3 separate regions of the Homo sapiens genome follow, and all the other regions are linked to region 2. Evidence: promoter capture Hi-C in 16 types of primary human blood cells and fetal thymus (Javierre and others, 2016). All regions are on one chromosome and are shown on one strand. The core of a region is centred on a gene start or on the middle of the fragment in contact, and the rest is flanking DNA. Distances in the headings are between cores, read along the strand shown.

The links. Contacts are between HindIII fragments. The CHiCAGO score rates a contact against its expected background, and 5 or more counts as called.
Region 1: a contact is called between a fragment that was not itself captured here and the fragment with the promoter of COL9A3 in region 2, in 1 of 17 cell types (neutrophils). The highest score is 5.4, in neutrophils.
Region 3: the fragment with the promoter of SLCO4A1-AS1 here is called in contact with the fragment with the promoter of COL9A3 in region 2 in 5 of 17 cell types (monocytes, neutrophils, total CD8 T cells and 2 more); the score reaches 11.7 in monocytes.

Annotation. Positions count from the first base shown.
Region 1 is chr20:62,574,810-62,577,560 of GRCh38, forward strand. No RefSeq gene overlaps it. Among named protein-coding and RNA genes, the nearest start is that of MIR133A2, 11 kb to the left of the region's middle. RefSeq lists enhancers at 895-1,396, 1,397-1,896. The HindIII fragment of the contact is 1,771 bases long and covers 547-2,317 here.
Region 2 is chr20:62,815,575-62,818,335 of GRCh38, forward strand. COL9A3 (collagen type IX alpha 3 chain) reads left to right here and starts at 1,476. Exons shown (of 32, transcript NM_001853.4): 1 at 1,476-1,568; 2 at 1,993-2,061. The coding sequence starts at 1,491. RefSeq lists enhancers at 1-342, 1,031-1,716, 2,405-2,761. The HindIII fragment of the contact is 2,563 bases long and covers 633-2,761 here.
Region 3 is chr20:62,665,336-62,668,209 of GRCh38, forward strand. SLCO4A1-AS1 (SLCO4A1 antisense RNA 1) reads right to left here and starts at 1,286. Exons shown (of 4, transcript NR_024470.1): 1 at 1,050-1,286; 2 at 525-675; 3 at 1-162. It overlaps SLCO4A1 (solute carrier organic anion transporter family member 4A1), which reads left to right. Exons shown (of 12, transcript NM_016354.4): 7 at 1,045-1,240; 8 at 2,410-2,575; 9 at 2,677-2,849. The HindIII fragment of the contact is 12,915 bases long and covers 1-2,281 here.

The DNA.
Region 1 (2,751 bases), core at 182-2,681, 240 kb before region 2:
TCTCGATACAGTGGTGGGTGGGTGGTGAGCTGCTTTCCTGTGCTCTGACCTTACTTTATTTCTAAGAGTGAAAACAGAAAGACGTGAGTGCCAACGCCAGCGACAGAAAGCAGGCTCTGTGAACAGCGCAGAGGCAAGGCTGGCACTGCCCAAGCTGCCCGGGGGACAGGCACGTGAGGCAGGTATGGCGCTGTGGACTGCAGACTGGGACGTTTGGGGCCACTTTCCTATAGAGGGTGTATCTTTATAGCAGCTGTAATACACGTTTCCTCATTGGAGGAGAAGACACGCTGGGTGACCATCTGTGTGTCAATGTACACAGTCAATTTTGTACATTTTCCAGGATTGCATTGTGGACACAGTGAAAGAGACCCCTGGGAGAAATGCTGCGTTCAGTGGAGACTGAACCCAGGTGGGGGGCTGGGGGGTGCCTCCTGTGACTCGGGGCAGGTGCCTGACTACCTGGGGTGCTTTCCAAGGAAGGTGGGCAGGGGCATGAGGAGGGCCCCTCCAGGGCCTCCGTACCTAAGTGAAGCTTCGTCAATAAGCTTCTCGGGAGATGGCCAGGGGCAATGAGGGAGACAAAGGGAGCTCCAACTCAAAACCTGAGAGAAAAGCAAATGGCGAATGTGATTTCATAAAAATGTTTCACTGACAAATCACAAGGCTTTTCCTGCTATGGGAACCCCATTCCTCAGCTCTCCCCACCGGAAAAGAACCTGGTGGGGCAGGGTGGGGAGACCCAGTCCCACACGGGAATTTCTGGGTGGAGCGTTTCCATATTTTTCACACCAGCAGGTGGACGCAGCAGTGAGTAAATCATCTGCATCTTTTGGACGTGAGGCTGCACGTGGCACTCTGTGGATAATGCATGCACATCTGCTCATCGCTTCTTTTTTGCAAAGTGCGCCTGTCACCCATAAATCCATCACATCCACGGCCAAAGGCTCCTTCAGAACGAGCCAAATTGCAGTTTCAGGTGTTGGGTCTTCTCTCACAGTCTCTCTTGCACGCACACTGGCTTGTGCACACAGGGACCTCCTGACCGGGCCCGGGGCGGTTGTGGATGTGTAGGGTCTTTCAGGAGAGCAAAGCTGACTTGAGGACAGACAGCAAAGCAGTAGCAGCAAAGCCCCGCAGCCCCTCGGAGAGTTCTTTTCATTCCCGGAACCAAGAGTGGGAGGAAATGGCCCCTAGGAAGTGTCTTATTTTCTCATTTGTTAGACGCCGCTGTCAGCCTGGGAGAGCAGGCACTCTCTGTTGTGAATCAGCCCAGTTGGATGAGCTCATGCTGTGGGGGCTGCAGCCCGCCGCCCCTGCACCCACTCCATTAGCTGCAGGGAGGTGAGCTCCGCGAGGGGCGGGCCAGGGCGCCACATCAGATCACTCCCCTTCACGGAACCCAGTCTAAGTGTGGGATGGCCCTGTCATGGCTCACACCAAATAAAACTGAGTCCAGGACAGCGCTGTGAGCCCTCACCACACCCTTAGCTGGAGGCCACAGGTGGCGGGGCTCAGGTCCGAAGCCCTTCAGCAAAGTCCTGGTGTGGGGCCTTGGAGAAGCCACCAATGTCTCAAGCCTGCTCTCACCTCCTCATGGGAGGGTCAGGTGGGGCCATGCAGTTGAAAGACATCAACATTCGCCACCCGCACAAGCGGCCTGGGCAGAGGCTGGCTGCAGGCCCCTAGTCCCCACCTCTGCTCCTTCTCCCAGCCTGGCCTGGGTAGTTGTGGGGCGGGGAGTCTGAGGCAGGGGGTGCCGGAGGAGGCCGTGCCCTTGAGATGCTGGGAGAGTGCTGATCTCCCGCTCCTGGATGTGTGGCCGAGGCCTCCTGAGTGTGCCTGGGTCCCGCCTGCCTGGGGCCACCGTCAGCCTCCCTGATGCTTCGAACACCATAGCTGCCTCTCCTTCCTCGCCGTTCCCTAGAGGAAAGTCCTTCTCACCCTGTGCAAGGAGCTCTTGGTTTGGGAAGAGACTGGACAGGACCCCCAATGACAGCTCAGTCTGGGAAGGCAGCCGATCTTTCTCAGGCCTGGGTACAGGTTTATGTGGGATCCTGGGCACAACATTTACCTTCTGCACCCATGGGAAACCTGCCCAGGAAGCATGGCCCACACCAGGCAGAGTGCACACACCATTTTTATTAAGCAGAGTGGCGAGAGCGCAGTGGCTGTGAGGTCCTTCCAGGACCCCGCTTGTGGACAGCTCCCAGCAGCTGCAGCTCACTCCCAGCCCCAGCTGACTCCCAGACCCTCAGTGAGCCCTGGGCTGGATCAAAGTACAGGGACGATCCTGTGGGTGCACCCCAGCATGGCAAGCTTCCAGGAGACCCTAGACCCCGGCTGGGGGTCAGGAAGGCTCTCGCCTCCGTGCTTCTGAGTCCATAGGAATTGAGTCTCTGGCCACACGAGGACAGAATCAGCTACATCTGAAGAACCTGGAGCTAGAAGATGAGGGCAATTAAGTCATGCGCCTCGGCAAGTTCATTAAAATGTTGACTTGCTAATGGTCCCGGGTGCAATTTGGAATGAGGGTGTTAACATAGAGACTTGGTCTATTCGGGAACTCCCTGGTCTGAAAATGGAGCTGCCAAGCTTCTAATATGCCCTCCACAGACTAGAGCTCCGACACATGAATTATTAATGCCGCATCATATTAATTGTATTGATATGTTAATAATTAACAACAATATGCTAATGATTGCCCTGTGGCTACGTCACTGCTGCTCACACACGTCCTCCCGGGAGGTG
Region 2 (2,761 bases), core at 226-2,725:
CCTTTTCAGCTCCTCCCACCTCGCCTGATGGAATTCGCACACACCCCTCCCAGCCCAGCCACCGCGCTCACCCAGCAGTGAAGGGAGAATCTCCCTCCACTCACTTCACCGCGGGAGAGATTAGAGCGACACTATTATTTTGAGACAGGGTCTCACTCTCTTGCCCAGGCAGGAGTGCAGTGGCGCCGTCTTGGCTCACTGCAGCCCCGACCTTACAGGCTCAAGCGATCCTCTTGCCTCAGCCTCCCGTGTAGCGTGGACTACAGGCGAGCACCACCATGCCCAGCCGATGTTTTAATTTTTGGTAGACATGAGGCCTCCCTCTGTCTCCAAGCTGGCCACGCCCGGCCGATGTTTCAATTTTTGGTAGAGATGAGGCCTCCCTCTGTCGCCAGGCTGACTGCGCCCGGCCAGAGTGCGGTGCTCCTGCTGAGCAGTTTTGCGCCCACTCCCCTCTCATCCCCTCCCGCCCTTGCTAACTCACAGCATTGCAACAGTCATGAGTCCCCACCTGCCGAAAGGAAGCTCCTGCAGCCCCCTACAACCCCCAGGGCAGCCTTTCTCGGGAATTTTCAAGATTCCTGGGGGAGGGGCTGGCATCTGCGCCTTCACTGAGCCTACAGGCAACTGGAAGCTTTGAGTCCCCTAGGGCAGCGACTGCCCTGGCAGCCTGAGGCAGAGCTTGGCCGGACCTGGCGACCCCTGAGCTTCTGGGAAATGGACATGGCCAGCACCGCCTTCAGGTTCCTGCCCAGGGCACGGTTCCTTCAGGCCGGGGATCCCGGGGAGGGGTTCTTCCCCTCGGCCAGGGTCATCGTTTTGCGATCTCTCCTGGGAGTCTGGGTTTGGAGTCTGGTCTTAGCCGGTAGCAACTGACGTGGCCTGACCACCCGGCCCGTCCAGGTCCACGGGTGAGGGGCCGCGGTGGGGGTGCTCCCAGCCCAGCAGGCAGCGCTGGACAGTGACCCCGGAGCGGGAACCAGGGCTGCGCTGGGCACTGACCGGGCCCTGGTACCGGGGATTCACCCTCCCCGGGGTGTTCCTGGGCCTTGGGTCGCCTGGGTCCGCTCCGGCGCCTGGGGAGGGGTCTGCGGCTTCGGAAACTCGCGGGTCTCCCCTGCCCCTCCCTGAAGGCGGCCCTTCAGCGCCGCGCGCTTCCGCCCCCACACTCGGGTTGAGGAGCAAGGAGAGAAAAGAGCGTCTTTCTCTCTTGCTCAAAGCTGCGTGTGTGCAACGCGCCAGTCCCAGGATAATTTTAACTCGCGGCCGGAGAGAACGCGCCGCCCGCCCGGCGTCTTTTTTGTTTTCGCCCAGGCGGGCTGGGCGGCGGCGCGGGGCGGGTGGAAGCCCCCCCGCCCAGGTGGGCCCGGCTGAATGGGGGGCTTGTGCAGGCGGGGGCGGGAAGGGGAAGGGGAAGGGGCCGCCCACCTCCCGCCCCGCCCGCCCGCGCGCCGCCCGCCCCGACGCCGCAGCTCAGACTCCGCTCAGCCATGGCCGGGCCGCGCGCGTGCGCCCCGCTCCTGCTCCTGCTCCTGCTCGGGGAGCTTCTGGCGGCCGCCGGGGCGCAGGTGAGCGCGAGCTCCGGGCTCTGAGGCTGGACGTGGAGCCGCGACCGCCCCAGCCCCGAACCCGCCACTCCGGGGTGCCCGGCGCAGCCTCGACGCCCCCAGCCCGTGTCGCCGTCGGGGCGCGGAGTCGCCAGCGCCTCGGGATGAGCCCCGTCCGGCCGCGTCCTCGATGGGTCCTCGCTGGCCCGGGTCGGCCGGCGCCGCCGCCTCCTCTGGGAGCACAAGGGGGCCTTTGTTCCCGCCGCCGGAGGGAGGCGGGGGACACACTGCGCGGGGGCGCCGGGCTCCGCCCGAGGCTTTGGGTCTCACCGAGGAGAGCGGCGGTCGTCGCAGGCCCCGGAGCCGCTCGGGACCCGGGAGGAGGGGACGCCGGGTCAGGCCCACGGGGGCACCTGCGCTCCTTAATGAGTTTTCTCCGTTTCAGAGAGTGGGACTCCCCGGCCCCCCCGGCCCCCCAGGGCCGCCCGGGAAGCCCGGCCAGGACGGCATTGACGTGAGTTTGGGGGTGGGGAGGGCCCCGAGCGCTCTGGGGTTCTGGCTCTGGCCCCCACCTCCCTGAGCTCCCCGGCCTGATGGAGAGAAAACCAGGCCCCACCTCCCAGAGCCGGGGTGACATCAGGGGACAGCCAGTGCCTTCACGGGATGGGGGTGGCCCTGCGGGGACTGCTGGTGGGTAGGGGTGGAGGGTGTCATGTGGTGGTCCTCCACCCAGAATGCCGGCACTGAGGTGTGTGTCTCTGGGTCCCCTGAGGGGCCCGTGCCCCTGTGTTCGGGGTTCTGGCCTCTGGCTGAAGTGGGGAGAGGCACGTCCTTTGGGTGGTTGGGGGCCGGGGGTCTTGTTGGAGGCTGCTGGGCTCTGGAGCCAGCCATGGAGGGGGCTTAGGAGCCGACTCAGTCCTGAGATGATGTCCCCTATGGGTATCTCAGGACTGGTGTGGGCCAAGCAGCAGGAGGAGGCGGCTGAAATTCTACAATTGTGCCTCCCTCGGAGGGACCGTCTGGGGTGAACCTCCCCATGTGACCACCACCAGGGCAGGAGTCCCCTCAGGGCCTGTCCACGCTGTGTGGTCCCCGTGGAGGGCTGTGGAGGGCTGCACCAAGAGCCCCCCATGACCCACCCTCTGCCCCCCTGCCCAGCTCGGCCTCAATGGCCACAGCCTCCTTCCAGTCTGTCCAGTTCACCCCTTTGCCCA
Region 3 (2,874 bases), core at 36-2,535, 150 kb before region 2:
ACCCCCTAGCCACCTAGTCTTGGCTTCTGTGACTTGGTGCAGGAAGGGTTTGGACCTGGCTGTTCCATGAGCCAGGCACTGGTGCCTCAGGACCTCCTGGAACAGTGCAGCTGGGGGTTTCTCGGTGCCAGAGGCAGGCTGGCCTTCCCAGGCTGGGCAGGTCTGCAGAAAGTGGGGACCCCTCCTCAGAGCTGCTCCTCCTGCCAGCGTTCACAGAGTACCCTGGGCCATGGCAGAGGTGCCAGGCATGTGGGCCACCACCGCCAATCTACCGCGCTCTACCCTTCCAGGGTCCACTATCTGGACAGGAAGAGGGCATCAGATGAGGGCTCCCCTCCCTCCCCCACAGGCCCATCCTGGCCTGGCCCCTCTGGGCTGACCTCACAAGCCCACATTCCCACACTCAACAGCCCCCCAGAGGTCAGCTCTACTGCCCCTTGGAGAGCCTCCCCACCTGTCCCCCCAAATCTGTCCCCTCCCCACCTGTCCCCCCAAACCTGTCCCCTCTCCACCTGTCCCCTCACCTGTGCCCTCCTCACTTGTCAGCCCAGAAGCTAGATGCCAGCTAATCGCAATTTTTTACTGTTGGTGGCCACTCAGGCTTCGACAAATGTCCTTGTCACAGCCTGCAGGGACTCGGCAGAGGCCCCTGGGGGAGGAGGGGGTGTGGCTGCCCTGGAGGGGGGTCAGTGGAGGAGTCATTGGCTTCCCACTGGGGCAGGGGCCGCTGACCTTGGAGCACTCTGGGCTCTCCTCCTCCCCCCGCCCCGCCCCGCCCCCCCGCTCCCCCTTCCCCTTCCCCTTCCCCTTCCCCTTCCCCTCTGAGGCATCCCCGCTGTGGGCTCTGGACAGAGGTCCCTCCTAGGGCTCTATCAGCGCAACAGCTAAGCACTCAGGTGTGGTGTTGAGTGCTGCCATGCAGGCAGGAATTGATCCCTCTATGCCTCAGTTTCCCCACCTGTAAAGTGGACCCGGCTGATCCACCACCCTCTCCCACCACGGCCCCCTGCCTGAGTCCCTGGCTGAATCCCTCCCTCTCCCCAGGGTACCTGGTGGTGCCAGCGGGTGGTGGCGGCACCTTCCTGGGCGGCTTCTTTGTGAACAAGCTCAGGCTCCGGGGCTCCGCGGTCATCAAGTTCTGCCTGTTCTGCACCGTTGTCAGCCTGCTGGGCATCCTCGTCTTCTCACTGCACTGCCCCAGTGTGCCCATGGCGGGCGTCACAGCCAGCTACGGCGGGAGGTGAGGGCCAGATGGCACCTGGGTACGCGTCGGGGCCCCAAGCACCCGCGGTCCCTGGGCATGGAGGAGGAGTGGTGCAGCACTTGGGAGAGGTGGTTTTGAAAAGGGCTACGTCACAGGACAGCGGCAAGGGCAACACCCGCTCAGCAGGGCACCCGGCAGCATCCACGTGAAAAGGCACCATGCCAGCCCCCAGCAGTGCCTGCGCTTGGGTCCCGGCTGTGCCCCCGGGCAGTCATATGCCTCTCTGGGCCTCAGCACTCTGCTCTGTAGCTGTGTCAAATGGAACAACAGCCCTAGTGTTCGGGGTCCTTGAGGCTGGTCTCTCGGTGACATAAAAAGTGTCCCAGGATGTGCTCCTGGAGTTGCCATGTGCTGGGAGTGGGAGGGACACCTGCTGGTCAGGTGGCAATTAGGGAATATCCAAAATACACGTAGGTAGCCTGCACCTCGGCCCTGCCCTGCGGGCCCCGGGAGTGCACCTGCAGGTGCCGTGCAAGGCCGAGAAGCACAAAGCAGCCGTTGTGGCATTATCGGAACCTAAGAGTCATCAGGGTGGACGGGGTCACTACGCTGTCCTCACAACAGAGGCCCTGCCCACAAAGGAGTGGAGGAAGCTCATCCTGGGCCACTGCCAAGACATACTGTGAAGTGGGAAAAAGGAAGGAGTTGGACAATGGGCGCAGTGTGCTCTGATTCAAGTGAGAAGTGCAGATGTTTGTGACTGCCGAGGGGCGTGTACGTGCAGACGACCCCTGCAAATGCACAGCCGGCCTGTGGCTGGAGAACCGAGGACTGGGGTGGGGCTGGGGCCACGAGGCTGCCTTTGTGTACTTGGCGCTTTTTCTTTCCTAATGTTTGTATTTGATCCATATGAATGTGTTGCCTGTCCAAAAACAAATGAACTAGGGAAAGGGGCTGTGCATCAGGCGGACGGTGCTGGGGGGCATGGGTGTGCCTTCCTTGCGTGAGGAGGAAAAACCATTCTATCACCAGAAGGCAGTGCCCAGTGTGAGTGCCCAGCGTGCTGGGGGCGGTGCAAGCTTGGCAAGTTTGTAGACCCGAAATGCAGGCTGCATGGGGACGAGCCCCATGGCTGACCCTGTGCCTGCTGGGCGCCAGCATGGCTCTGGCCTGGACCCTACCACTCGCTTGTCCCCCCTCTGCAGCCTCCTGCCCGAAGGCCACCTGAACCTAACGGCTCCCTGCAACGCTGCCTGCAGCTGCCAGCCAGAACACTACAGCCCTGTGTGCGGCTCGGACGGCCTCATGTACTTCTCACTGTGCCACGCAGGGTGCCCTGCAGCCACGGAGACGAATGTGGACGGCCAGAAGGTGAGTGGAGCCGCTGCCTACCGCCCCTGTCCTCCCCTGGACCCTGGGAAGGGGCCCCCGTGCCTTCCCCTTGTAATCGGAGCTATTGTTGGGCTTCCCAGGTGTACCGAGACTGTAGCTGTATCCCTCAGAATCTTTCCTCTGGTTTTGGCCATGCCACTGCAGGGAAATGCACTTCAACTTGTCAGAGAAAGCCCCTCCTTCTGGTTTTCATATTCGTTGTAATTTTCTTTACATTCCTCAGCAGCATTCCTGCACTAACGGCAACTCTACGGTAAGCTGGGGTCGGGTGTGCGCTT